Linked DNA regions of Homo sapiens: regions 1, 2, 3 and 5 are each linked to region 4. Evidence: promoter capture Hi-C in 16 types of primary human blood cells and fetal thymus (Javierre and others, 2016). All regions are on one chromosome and are shown on one strand. The core of a region is centred on a gene start or on the middle of the fragment in contact, and the rest is flanking DNA. Distances in the headings are between cores, read along the strand shown.

Region 1 (2,700 bases), core at 101-2,600, 130 kb after region 4:
CCCCCCACATTGATTGATGAATGCATTCTCTTTAAGAGTTGTTTTCGTGACACTTATGAGCAGTGCTAGAATTCTCATGTTTCCACCTAGTATGCCTGCAATAAGTGTTAGAGCAGGAGTGGTGCCATCCACTATTATGGAAACACTTTCCTATTAGTCTATTCATGAGGTGGTGCAAAACAGGTGCTTACTTACCAGACAGCTCATTCAGAGTCCACCTTGCTTGTGGATAAAAGTCCCTTTTCTTCTGTTCTCCCCTCTTTATTCTCCTTCCAGAGATTTCCTAAAGTCTTTTTTACTTCTTGGCCCTTCCTTGCAGCCCCATCCCCAACAATCCTGGTCTATCAGGAACATCTGGTTTGGAGGTAGAAGGAGCTCCAGGGAAAGGGAGCTTCAGGATCCTCAGCATTAATCATCAATAGGAGAAATGGACCTTAGTCTTGAAGATTAAAAAAGAAAGTTTTATGTTGCAAAAACGTGGTGTCTTCATAGTTACTATGCCAACAGAACCCTAATTTTATTTCCGCTTCATAGCAAGGGTCATCTTCTGGAAGAGAAAGAGCAGAGAGGAAGATAAGTCATCCTGCCACATAGATACTAGAGTCAGTCTGAGACAAAGAGAGTCAAAGGAAGGAAATGTGCAGACCTATTAGGGCAATGCAAAAAAAAAAAATAGTTTATTTGTTCATGGTCAGTAAAATCCTCTACTAGGAACCCTACTCATTTTTTCTTTTTAAATTACAGACCCCTTTAAACAAAAGAAACACTACTGATAATTATAAATGTATTAATACATAGGCTAAATCGCTGTAATAGTTACTAATTATTAAATATATATTTTTAGAGATAGGGTTTATTATGACTATTTTAAAACAAATATAAAGTAGAAATGTTGGCATGAGCTACATTAGGAATAAACAATATTGTATGTATATCTTGTTATTATGATGGATTTCTCTTAGTGTAGGCCAGGCTCTTCTTTAACAATAATGGATATAAAACTGAATTTCACATAGCTTTGATAGTTTTAATATTGTTTGGCTGACTTCTTGTCAGATGCAATTGGATCATCAGTTTTCACCCCAGAATAAGGTAGAAAAGATCATATGCCAGGAGAAGGAAATACATCAGCTCTACCATTTTCTTGTGTGTGTGTGTGTGCACTCTTTTAATTACCTTAAATCTGTCATTTATTTGTAGGAATGTCAGCAGGATTTTATTAAAACCAGATTTGTAATCCATAACTTCACTGCAGTGAGCGAATGTGGACTGTAAAGCTCTGAGTGATCCCGCAGGTGAAGTGTCCCATCAACTCCTTTCCCACTATAGGATGCCCACCCTCCCTTAGGATACTTCTAATTCTGTATGTGACACTGATTATATGACAAATGGATTGGTGGAGGATTCCAGTGTCGGCCTATGTATTAAGCATTAGTAACGCTGAATTTATTTCATATTTTTGAAGATAAAAATAACTATAAATAGAAATTTTAATATATTCTGTCCACAACCTAGGTGATTCTATTATGTAGCTTCCGGGGTGGACATAGCATACTTTGGGGATGAGGTCCTGGAGTACCACGCTAAGGACATGGAGGCTGCTTCTTGGCTTTGCAGAAAAGCATGCCAAGCTCATTCATGAATATCTGCTATTGTTTCAGGAGGAGAAAATGATAGACTGGTGTCAGATATCCTGATCAAGATCAAAATCCTCTCTTGGCCCCCATGTGGAGGGTGAGAAAAACTAGACCTATCAGACCAAGTGATATTCTTAGCAAACAGGTGTAGGAGCAGAACTGGTATTTATCTTTCTTCATTCTTGGGCCAATCCTCCAGTGCTGAGACTGTTCCTCCTTATTATATCAAGGGAGAGATAAGGAGAGAACTCATCATCATTTGTGTGGATGTTAAAGACATTAAAATGAAATGTAGCTTGTGTAGCTTTGGCCACGGTCTGAGATTTATTGACAACTAGCAGCCAGTTATGATAGCCAAGATGGTTCATTAGCTAGGGCAGACTCTACATTCGTAGATCAAGATTTCTTTGTAGAAAGGAAAAGTGACTTTCTCAGTGCTGGGATATTCAGATTTAGGAGGCTTTTTTGTTCGTTGTTTGTTTTTTCCTTGTTCAGTAGTTCACAGCTAGAAGAGTTCACATGTTCCTAGAGGATAAAGATGCTAAGATCAGCACTGTGTGAAATATGGAAAATCTTAGATTCTGTGGGTGGGGCAAAATGTATTTTCATTGTATTTGTAGGATAGATTCTTCATCTAGCTCATTAATCTGTAGTCGTTTGTCTTTAGGCTGCAGCATTTGACTCATTCATGATTGTGCCATCACTGTGAAGGAAGTGCCATTTGTGACACTGTATCCCTTTTTCTTTCTTTTAAGTGTAGCTAAAGACAGGTTAAGTGCCCTATCATGGTGAAGCAAAACTAAAAATACATGTATTCCAAGGGAGTGTTTGGTCAAGGGAAGCTCGCTTGCTCGCTCGCTTGCTTTCTTTCTTTCTTTCTTTCTTTCTTTCTTTCTCTTTCTTTCTTTCTTTCTTTCTTTCTTTCTTTCTTTCTTTCTTTCTTTCTTTCTTTCTCTTTCTTTCTTTCTTTCTCTTTCTTTCTTTCTTTCTTTCTTTCTTTCTTTCTTTCTTTCTTTCTTTCTTTCTTTCTTCTATTTTTTTCTATTTATTTCTCTTTTCTTCA
Region 2 (2,700 bases), core at 94-2,593, 160 kb before region 4:
ACTTATATGAAAAACCTGCCTGTGTATCCCTGAACCTAAAATAAAAGTTAAAAAAAATCACAATCAAATGTTGTTAACTTGTTAGGCACATGTTTATCTTTTACCAAACAGTTTATATTGTGAATAAACATATTGCCAAAATCATTAAAAAATTACAATCCCACTTGGTTTTATAGGAATTGCCTAAAGAGGTCCTTAGTTGGTTGGACTGAAGTCTTAATGATATGTTGATGATTACCAAGATCATGTTTCAATTTTACTCTACCAGATGGTTTCTGATGCCTCAGATCAGAGTGAATGTCCTAGGTTCAATTCATTAGTAGGTGTTGCTTTTAGATTGGATAAGCCCAATTAAAGTAGGTCTAAACTAAGGAATATGTAGTACCTGGTGGTACTATTTTGAGAAGACTCCTCTTTACTACTCCGTAAAAATACCTTTTTTACCAGGTCTCTGATGCCTAAAAGTTTATCTTTGTGGTTTTATTTATTTAAGTTAGACATTGTACCTGGCAATCAACCTTTGTATTAGTTAGTCATTGCTGTGTAACAAAACATTCCAAGACTTGATGGCTTAAGAAAACCACTTATTGTTTGTGATTCTGTGGGTTGATAATTTGGGCAGGGTTTAGCTGGGATGTCTCTTCTCTATTCCATGTGCCCACTCATGCTTTTGTGGTCAGCTGGCAAGCCAGCTGGGGACTGCCGGGTCCTGGATGACCCCTCTTATATTGCTGGCAGTTAGCTGGAGTGATGGGGGCAACTAAGCCACATGTCTCTCTTCATCCAGCAGACCAGTCGGGGCTTCTTCCCACGATTGTAGGGTTCCGAAAGCAGCAACAGAACACAAGGTCCCATATGCATGCTCTCTTTAAAGCTGCTTCTTCTGTTGTTTGCCAATGTCCCAGTGGCATGAGCAAGTCACAGGGCCAAGCTTATAGACTCTGTTTCTTGATAGGAGGAGCTGCACAGAACTTGTAGCTATTTTTTTTTCAATCTACCATAACCTTAAACCTAAATATGTGAAGAATGTGATGTGATGTGTCTGTGTGTGTGTGTGCACGTGTGTGTGTGTGTGTGTGTGTGTATATATATATATATATAAATTGTCTCTATATATGTAAGCAGATTTGAGGAGAAAGAAAGTTGAAAAACAGTGTTTAATCTTTGGTTGCTTGAAAAGAAATGGTGAGGTCCCCTGAACTTGCCTACTCAAGTGATAAGGAATGTCTAGGAGAAAACTTCTTTACTTACCTCATAATTCCATATAGATTGAGCCTTGTTCCTGGCTTTATTTCAAAGAAGTTTCATTTTTCCCTTCAGGTTATTAACATATATATTCTCCTAGAATCTTAAGTCACCAAATAAAAACACACTTCTGATTTTTCACTGCTTTATCAACTCTTAAATGAACAAATGCTGTGTGTTTAGGCATCCTTAATTTAATAAAGAAAGTTGGAAGAGAATTCAGAATTTACTCATATAATTGAGTTGTCATTTCTGATTTATTTACATTTTGAAATTTTCTTTGTAATCCAGTTGCATCAAGGCTGAATTTCCCCATGAAATTCTTTAGCTGAAGTCCTGACTGTCAGCTTCAGCCCTTGGGCATTTGTAGCCCTTAGGGATAGTGGCCAAGTGGAAGGTGTGTGCTTCTAAAACTGTTCTTAAAGGATCATGAGAAATTTCCCTGGTGTTTAACAATATTTAGGATTTAGCATATTTACTCGAGAATGGCAATGACTAATAGAAAGCTTAGAGGATGACACGATTGCATTGTGCCTGTGAATGTCCCCAGTGATAGGGGAATGAAAGTAAATACAGCCAGAAAGATAATCGTGGTCTGCATTGTGGACTCCGTGTACCAAAATTTTCTGGAATAATCCCAGTCACAGTATTTTGTTTTCCATCACACAAATACTTTGCTACCAAACTATGTATCTATGAGGCCACCTCTGATATATAATTGGAAACAGCGCAACTTTGTCAGATCATGGTTCCCAATTTTTGGTTTGCAAAAATTGTTACCTTAGATTGTTTATGCTTTTTTCTTTCTTTCCTTTTTAAAGTAGAGCTTTTATGTTTTATTCAAAATATATTTTAAAAGATAAGCAACATAAATTACCTTCAGAGCAAATTTTCGGCAAGATAATTAGGAATGCAAAAAGCTAATTCACAAATGTCTAGTATATGATAGTCAATTTGAAACACACTTAATCTTTACAAAACTATAATATTATTTTTAATATTACCTACTGGTCTGTATGTTACTCAAAATCTTAATCTTGGTGCTGTATTAAATACTTCTAATATCTTCCATTTTCTGACATTCCTTTCTGCAAAAATATTATTCCTGTGGGTTAAGGAAGCTAGATCAGAGATGTGGGAAAAATTGCCCTCACGAATTTGAATATGAACTTGTTTATCCTCATTCCGCTTAGGCATGTGTGACTCCTAGTCATACAGTGAGGAACTAGAACACATTGTGCCACAGCTATATCCTTATTACTTTCCCTCATTCTGGCCTTTCTTTTCCAATACGTCATTTGTTGTCACTTTGGGATTCCTTTGTGTTACTTTTTTCCCTTATGTAAACCTCGAGAGGAGGGTAGCTTCCTTTAGTCCATGTGCCGATGGCTGGTAGATCATTTGACTATATGTTTCACTGTTGGTTTATTTATATGCCCATAGCTGGTACATGTT
Region 3 (2,787 bases), core at 284-2,783, 210 kb before region 4:
CATTAGGAAAACAAGCAGCTAGCACATTTTACCCAGGCCGTTCTCGATATTATTGCTTAGGGAGAGGCTAAACCTAAGTTGAAAGATATGGTTGATTTTGGGACAAAAACTTTAAGCAAGTGGATTCGCTCCTTCAACAAATAATTGTGCCAGGAAATGTTTAAGTTTGGAGGGTCCAGAGGTTTCTCTCCAAACAAGGCAGAGAAAGTCCTGATTCTCAGGGAGTTTATGTTCTCGGAAGGAAACCAATAAAGAAAATCATTGTAGGTAATGAGAAGTATACAGTGATGAGCACACAGGTGCCCTGGGGATACAACAGGGGCCTCCAGGGATGCAGCCCTACTCCCATGGGTCACCTTCTGGGTGGGGAGGTAACAAGTATGTGTGTGTGTTTCAAGTAGAAATAAGAGCGAAGTTTTAGAATAAACAAGGGCAAAAAGCCTGAGGTCTGAGCAAGTGACTTCTGAGCTTAGAGCTAACTAATGAAAGAGGGTGGGCACAGAAGGCTGCAGAGTCAGAGGAAACAGCCCTGCAGTGTGACCACAGGGTCCAGGGGTGAGTTTTTTGGCATCCCAGAATGTCCTTTGGGCACAGAGAAGACTATTTGAAATTATCTTTTGTATGCGTTCCCTTGTGAGAAGTAAACTTAAACACTATAATGATTCTCAAGCTCTGTTCAACATCCCAATGGGTTCTGACTTAATCTTATCTTTCAACTTAAATTCATCAATCAAAAACCAATTACTCAGCTAAACATTTTAATTGGAATCATAAGTGTGATAGATTCTCTCACACATCACATTTTTTCTCAATCATCACACATTCTTTGCATACCAATAGGCACAGATTAGCTTAAACCAGACACGAAGTGGCAGAACCATGGGCTTGATCTACGTCCTCATATCATCATCTCTATACTTGGCTCTATCTCTTCTTGTGATTGGAAGACTCATACCGCTAATGGAAGAGCTTCATTATCCTAAGCTAACTGTGGTTCTTGACCCAAATGAATTGCAGTTGGCGCTCAGAGGACTAAGGTTGTTTCTGGGAGGGAGGTTTTTGGCTGTCTCAGGAGTCCTGGGCATCCAGGGTGATTCTTCTCATATCAGTGGGATGAGCACACATAGGCCACCTCTCCCTATTATTGCCATCCAACAGGAAACTCCAAGCTCATACTCATCAATGGGCTTGATTTCAAAACCCACAGCCCCTGAGTCCCAGAGACATTATTGTTTAATTGTTCTGATTTTATTGGTAACTCCCACTAAGGTTGTAGCTATTTTCCTTCCCTCCTTAGTTGGATTTTGCACTTTTCTTTGTAGCCCTCTTAAGACATTTTCATGTCTCCCTACCTGGTTCTAGAGATAACTTTAAAGCTTTGATACCCTTCTCTTAGGTCTTCTACTCTGTTGTGCAATTTATTTCTAAACCCTCCTGTCTTTATTTCCTGATTTTACAAATGAAATTCCACTATAACTCCACTGGTCCTCTCCTTTCCACTCCCAAAAGTTTATTGCTAACTTTCTTCAGTAATTTCTCCATCTCAGGACAATTTTAAATCTGTGCCCCACTTCTCTTTGTAGGGCAGGACTGTAACTGCTTCTGTTGAATCCTGCATCCCTCTCATGATTCTTTCTGGTCCTGAGGCCACAGCATGAAAACAATACTGATGCCTATGAGCAGAAGCTTGGCGAGATTCGGAATAGAGTGAGGCCTGGGTGGCTGCAGCACGGTGGTCGGTGGCAGGACTGGGCCAAGATGAGGGTGCAGGGGCCACACCGTGCGGTATCTTTTAGCCCCTGGGTAAAGTGTTTGGGTTTTATTCCAAACCTTTTGGGAAGCCATTGGAGGGTTTTAAGTAAGGAGTAATAGGATATGAATTATATCTTAAAAGGATCTCTTTGGCTATTCGTATGTGGAGAATGGATTGAAAGAAAGCAAGTGTGGCAGTGAAGACAGGGGCTGGGCGACCATTGCTGGAGTCCTGGTGAGAGGCAGTGAGGTTTGGGACTAGACAATGTGAAAGGTATTATGTGGTTGTGACAATAACTTGGCAGGTGGTTCACGAATGCTTGTGGTCTGCCCATGGGGGCTTAGAGGGAGTACCACTAGCTAGAGGAAAGAAAGACAATTGCTGATACTTGCCTCCATGGTTAGGTATAGACTTTCGTCATTTGGAAATCAAAATAAGGGAGTTTATCATTGTCTTGCATTTTTAGTCAAGTGTCAATGACATTCACACATTTTCTGCACTCTTGTGTGCCTTTACATGGGTTTTTCTCCATGTCTTGCCCACCTTCCACTTGGGAGCTATGGCATAGGTTTCCAGGGCTGAAATGCCTGTTGTGTATGCATGCTAGAGCAAATTCTTCCATAACACACACAGAATGGCCACCGTGTATTACCTTTTGTGTCTGTGGCATCGATACCATCAGTCTTGCTTGTATATCTTCTACGAGGTCCTCTGGGTGTCTGTCATTGCTTTAGTGGCAAAAGGAAATATTAGTCATAGTTGGTATGGTTACTTTAGTCCCCAGAGAAGAGTTTGACTTTTAGCAGGATGGAAGAAAGAAAACCCAGGCCAAGACTTTAATGGTATTTTTCATTTAAATTTCTACCAGTCACTCATTTAGTTTTGACTCCTTGATTATGAGATCAAATAAAAAACCAAAAGACACAGGAAGGGTGAGATTTGTGTAGATCTTAGGTATCCAGTTCAGAGTATTACATGTATATCAATACCAGTGATTTGCCCAACACCTTCAGTGAAGCCTCTGCTCTCTGAGG
Region 4 (2,700 bases), core at 66-2,565:
CTAGGGCTCCCCACAAACATTGTGTTCTCTCTGCTCCTCTCTTTGGTCATTCTATGTCCTGAGTTCTTCCCACCATGTTCTCCTCTCCCACTCTTCATCAGCTCGAGAATCAGCTTAGTATCCCTGACTTGCCAAGTGCCTTTAACCCCCAGCCCTAGACGGATGCTCTTTCCACTGGGTTTCCATGGTCAGTTAGAGGCGCAGGGCCACATCTCCTGCCCTGAAGTCATCTGACTGTGCACTCTCTAAGCCACTCACTGGCTGTGTGACCTGGACAAGTGACCTAAACCTTATAAGCCTCATTTGTTTGATCCACATGGTGAAAATATTAATAGTTATTTTGCCGAGTTGTCAAGAGAATGGGAAGGGCTGGCCTGTTTAGGACAGGAAGTCATCTCATGGTGGCCGGCACTAGCCGGGGAGCCTCCAGGCCTGCGAGCCCAGAGCGGCTTTCCCTTGGGTTCTGAGAGCCTCCTGCTGCACCTGGCAGATCTCAGGATGAGTTAGTGATTCGGGAGTCTGCATGGCCCTCCTCACCCCTGTATAGGTTAGGAGTCGAGTCCTCTCCCCATCATGAAGCATGGCCTCTTCGTGGCCAATCCCTCTCATCTCTCAGGTCTTACTCCAGGCATTCCCCAGGGCCCTTGTCTAAGAAGCTCTCCTCTCCCCTTCTTCCCACATCTGCCCTGTTTTATCACCACCCGATATAGCACCGGCTTGTTGATGTGTTTGCTCAGTCACGACTCTCTCTCCAAAGCAGAAGGTAAGCTCCAGAGAGAAGGAACATTCTCTTGTCTTCTATTCTGCGTCGCTGCATCCTCAGAACCCAGCATAGGGGCTGGAGCCTAATAGATGCTCAGTTAACTGGAGTGGGAAGAATGAATGGAAGTGTCTCCCTAGCACAGCGCCAGGCACAGCACAGGCACTTCAGAGATGCCTGTTATATGGAAACCCGGGACCCCCGGGGCTACGGTTTCCTTATTTTAGGAATTTCCCCCACCCCCGCCACCCCCGACATCCCCGCTGCCCCCACCACCCCCGGCTCCAGGCCCTTCCCCCCTCAGCCAGTCTGTCCCTTTTCCCAGACCCCAACCCAATGGGGGCTTCCTGCAGGGAAGGGCCGGCTGTTCTAGCCTCCCCATTCACCCCTCACTAGGATTTAGAGTCGGCCGCGCTGCACTCCCGCCCCGCGCGGCCCCTGGGCGCCCGCCCCGGGCATGCTCAGAGCGCGCAGGTCCGGGCGGCGGCGGCGGGGGAGGAGGGAGCGGCCGCCCCCGCCGCCGCCGCGCGCTCGCCGGGCCCGGGCGGAGCTGCGCAGTCCTCTCGCAGCTGCGCCAGGACAGCCGGCGCGCGGCCGTGCCCACAAGTTGCCGGCAGCTGAGCGCCGCGCCTCCTCCTGCTCGCAGCCCCCTACGCCCACCCGGCGGCGGTGGCCAGCGCCAGGACGCACATCCCGCGGACACCGACCCCAGATGTAAAGCGGGACCCCAGCCCCTCGCCCCCCGGCGCGATCGACAGTCTCGCCAGCGTCTCCTCTGCCAAAACCCAGGGCTGGAAGATGTGGCAGCCGGCCACGGAGCGCCTGCAGGTAAGGGGCACCCGGGAGCCGGGGGCCAGCCTGGAGGAGGAGGTGCCCGGGCAGAGGAACCTAGTTTTTGCTTCTGCCTACTTTAGGGGATTTGCCCAAAACCATCTTGTAAGACGCATCGATGGCAACATGATGCTGTCGGTTTACCCAGCGCCAGGAACCCGGCAGGGGTATGGGGATGATGAAATTGATAAACGCACGGGTTCAGGCGTTACAACTTTTGGCTTGGAGGTGCTTGTGTGCGTGTTGGTTGGTACATATAAGGTTGGACTTTCTGACTGGCAATTTAGATTGCATTCCACTGACACAATGCAGTGGTCTGGGGTTAGGATTTTTGAAGCCAGATTTTTTTTTTTTTTTTTTTTTTTTTGTGGTCACCAGGAAAGACAGAACAAGTGATATGTGAAAGCATCCATTTGCCAATATAATGTGGAAATATCAAGCTTGGTTTGGCTTGGTCATGGTATGCTACTTATTTTATTTTTCCCTATTCATTGGTTCTCTCCCTTTATCTTCCTTAAACCCAAGCTCCTTCAGATATTTAAGAATCAAAAGTAGGTTCAGCCAGGAATATTTATGTCCTGGGTTATCCCATCAAAAGTTTTTTACTGCTGTCTCCTGAAATGCCAGACTGCCTTGAATTGGATTCTGGAAGCTGGGGATTTGCGGGAGGCGATTGAAGAGAAAGAGGGACCTTTCCCAGAAGAACTCCTTCAGTGACACGTTGGGCCTTGGGATTGCCCTGGTTGCAAGGTTTGAGGACTGCCTTTTGCTGGCAAATATTGTCAAGAGTCACGGCAGCTACTCTGCCAGATAAAATCCACTGAATCCTGCAGTTAAACTTTTGGCAAGCTAGGAGCCACATTGTTTCGTAGTAAACTTTGAAGACGTGTTTAACTGGTAAAATACAGCACCATTGGAGGCTGAGTGCATCTGAAGACTTAGGACAATGAGGCCAGGCCCTGGCTAGGTTGGAGGCTTCTCAATGAACATTTACAGCCCCAAGCACAGTTTCTCAGATGCAGGGAGAGGCTAACCTTTGTCTAGGAGTCCTCATACAGAGGAACAACCCGCAGAGGGCATTGCATTTAGCAGAAACAGATGCCCCACAG
Region 5 (2,700 bases), core at 148-2,647, 180 kb before region 4:
ATCTTTCTTTCATGGATACAAAAGCAGAAAGTCAGAGTGATTAAGTACTAGCCCAAAGTCCCACAGTTTAGTGGGCTGAGATGGTGTTTAAATCCAATTCCCCTTGGTTCAAAGCTCTTTAACATTAACTCACACAGAGAAGACACATATACAGGGCCCATACATATGCTTTATTTGCTGGAGAAATTATTTATCAACAGTTTAAAATGACAAGCCTTGGCTGGGTGTGGTGGCTCACGCCTGTAATCCCAGCACTTTGGGAGGCTGAGGCGAGTGGATCACTTGAGGTCAGGAGTTCAAGACCAGCCTGGCCAACATGGTGAAACCCCGTCTCTACTAAAAATACAAAAATTAGCTGGGCGTGGTGGCAAGTGCCTGTAGTCCCAGTTACTTGGGAGGCTGAGGCAAGAGAATGCTTGAATCCAGGAGGCGGAGGTTGCAGTGAGCCGAGATCATGCCACTGCACTTCAGCCTGGGCTACGGAGCAAGACTCCATCTCAAAAAATAAATAAATAAATAAATAAAATAATAATAAAATAGACAAGGCTCAAACAGGAATTTGGATTTCGGACTTTTCTTGAACACTCAGAAGATATGGTACCTGGCCCCATGTTTCAAATTGGCTGCAGGTTATGGCGGCCGTCTTTTTTGGAAGGGGCATGCTTTCTCCCGTTTGCCACAGACCCTGCCAGTCCCTATTGTATTACACCTGATCCACCCTCTGTATCAACATTATCTACCGGAGTCCTGCTGGCATTTGCATTTTTGACTTATGTTACATTGTGTCTCTGGGCTCTGTCGTCTCTTCCATTCTTCTACAGTCCAAGTGGTCCCTGAATTGATAATTTTACTTATAAAATCATGCTCTAATATATTTCACATTCTTTATGTTTATTGCTACAAATTGGCCTTCACAACCTCAATTATTCGAGTAAACAACTGGTTTCATGCTTCCGGTCTCAACCTCTTCTGATTCCCTCTCCACATTGCCTATAATTAGAGATATAAATAATGAAAATAGATGATATCCAGTAGCCTCAGAATGAAATGTAAGCTCCCAAGTGTAACATATAAGACCAGTCGTGACCTGGCCTGACCAGTGCTCTCATTATTATTCATTTTCTGCACTTCTCTTCTTATTGAAATATTGGCTCTCTCCAAAGCCATGACCCTTTATGTCTCCTTGTTACCCATTTTTATTTCTACTTGGACTATTCTGTGTGGCTTATATTACTATTTATAACTGAGTATATTGACATAAAGCTAGAGTGATTGCCTTTCTAAAATTCACTTTTTCCTTTATTTTGACCTGATCAGTAAATCCTCTATTCTTTCACCAAGACACAAACAGGATAGAAACATAAGTCCTGGTTTTGCTTACACATCATAACATCTTAATTGGTTGGTCATTCACTTCTCTTCTGTGCAGTGTAGGAGACGTGTAAGCACTTGGCCTTGGTGTCCCAGCTCTGCCATATACTAGCTATTTAGACTTGAAAAGGTTACTTCACATTCTCATGTCACTGTTTTCACATTTGTAAGATAGGGCTATTATAGTTCTTACATCCTACTATAATAGTAGGATTAAATGAAATAGTTCACCTAAAGGGTTAGAACCAGGTGATGCAAATCAGCCTCCAGTGGATGTTAGCTGTTGCTGTTATTTATTTATTTGTTTATTTATTTTTCGAGACAGAGTCTTGCTCTGTCACCCAGCCTGTAGTGCAGTGGCACTATCTCGGCTCACTGCATCCTCCGCCTCCTGGGTTCAAGCGATTCTCCTGCCTCAGCCTCCCCAGTAGCTGGGATTACAGGCAGGCACCACCACACCCGGCTAATTTTTGTATTTTTAGTAGAGACGGGATTTCACCACGTTGGCCAGGCTGGTCTTGGACTCCTGACCTCGTGATCCGCCTGCCTCAGTCTCCCAAAGTGCTAGGATTATAGGCATGAGCCATCACGCCTGGCCTGTTGCTGTTATTATTAGCATTTTTAATTCATTCATTCTTCCAGCCTTGGACTGGGAACCGTACTAGGAAGTTTGATATGTATTTTTTTCAGAACCCACAGTGACTTTGTAAAGAAAACAGTTTCAGCCCTGTTTTCCAGGTAGAGGCAGTGGACGATGGGAGAAAGGGGGCCTTGCCATGGTCACTCAGACTGCTGGGGTGGTGAACACAGAATCAAACACAAGATCCTAATTATCGCTTCCCTGTCTCCTTATGCTCCCTATTTGTATGAGTCTTCTCAGGCTGCTGTGACCAAGGACTACAGGTTTAAACAACAGACATCTTTTTCTAGCTTTGGAGGCTGATAAGCAGTTCATCTACTTCTAGTTCTGGAGGCTGGAAGCTCAGGATCAAAGTGCTGGCAGGGTTGATTTTTTCTGAGGCCTCTCTCCTTGGCCTGCAGAGGGCCACCCTCTTGCTTCCTCCTCACAAGGTCTTTTCCTTTGTGCACAGGCATCTCTGGTGTCTTTTTCTGTGTCCTGATCTCTGCTTATAAAGACACCAGTCAGATTGCATTAGGGCTCAACCTAACAACTTCAGTTTAACTGACTCACCTCTTTAAAGGCACTATCCCTGAAAAGCCACATTCTGAGGTATTGAGAGTTAGGGCTTCAAAATATGAATTTTACTCAACCAGAGAAAGCTAATTTTAAAAAATATGAATTTTGGAGGGACGCAATTTAACCCATGA

Evidence for each region. Contacts are between HindIII fragments. The CHiCAGO score rates a contact against its expected background, and 5 or more counts as called.
Region 1: a contact is called between a fragment that was not itself captured here and the fragment with the promoter of PID1 in region 4, in 4 of 17 cell types (M2 macrophages, M0 macrophages, M1 macrophages and 1 more). The highest score is 6.4, in M2 macrophages.
Region 2: a fragment that was not itself captured here is called in contact with the fragment with the promoter of PID1 in region 4 in 1 of 17 cell types (monocytes); the score reaches 13.5 in monocytes.
Region 3: a contact is called between a fragment that was not itself captured here and the fragment with the promoter of PID1 in region 4, in 1 of 17 cell types (monocytes). The highest score is 5.3, in monocytes.
Region 5: a contact is called between a fragment that was not itself captured here and the fragment with the promoter of PID1 in region 4, in 1 of 17 cell types (monocytes). The highest score is 8.5, in monocytes.

Annotation. Positions count from the first base shown.
Region 1 is chr2:229,138,949-229,141,648 of GRCh38, reverse strand. All of the region lies in intron 2 of PID1 (phosphotyrosine interaction domain containing 1), which reads left to right. Among named protein-coding and RNA genes, the nearest start is that of PID1, 130 kb to the left of the region's middle. The HindIII fragment of the contact is 6,591 bases long and covers 1-2,700 here.
Region 2 is chr2:229,433,310-229,436,009 of GRCh38, reverse strand. The region is part of intron 8 of DNER (delta/notch like EGF repeat containing); the gene reads left to right. Among named protein-coding and RNA genes, the nearest start is that of PID1, 160 kb to the right of the region's middle. The HindIII fragment of the contact is 820 bases long and covers 934-1,753 here.
Region 3 is chr2:229,481,462-229,484,248 of GRCh38, reverse strand. The region is part of intron 6 of DNER (delta/notch like EGF repeat containing); the gene reads left to right. Among named protein-coding and RNA genes, the nearest start is that of PID1, 210 kb to the right of the region's middle. The HindIII fragment of the contact is 310 bases long and covers 1,379-1,688 here.
Region 4 is chr2:229,269,902-229,272,601 of GRCh38, reverse strand. PID1 (phosphotyrosine interaction domain containing 1) reads left to right here and starts at 1,315. Exons shown (of 3, transcript NM_001100818.2): 1 at 1,315-1,588. The coding sequence starts at 1,559. The HindIII fragment of the contact is 3,085 bases long and covers 1-2,033 here.
Region 5 is chr2:229,450,446-229,453,145 of GRCh38, reverse strand. The region is part of intron 7 of DNER (delta/notch like EGF repeat containing); the gene reads left to right. Among named protein-coding and RNA genes, the nearest start is that of PID1, 180 kb to the right of the region's middle. The HindIII fragment of the contact is 2,854 bases long and covers 1-2,700 here.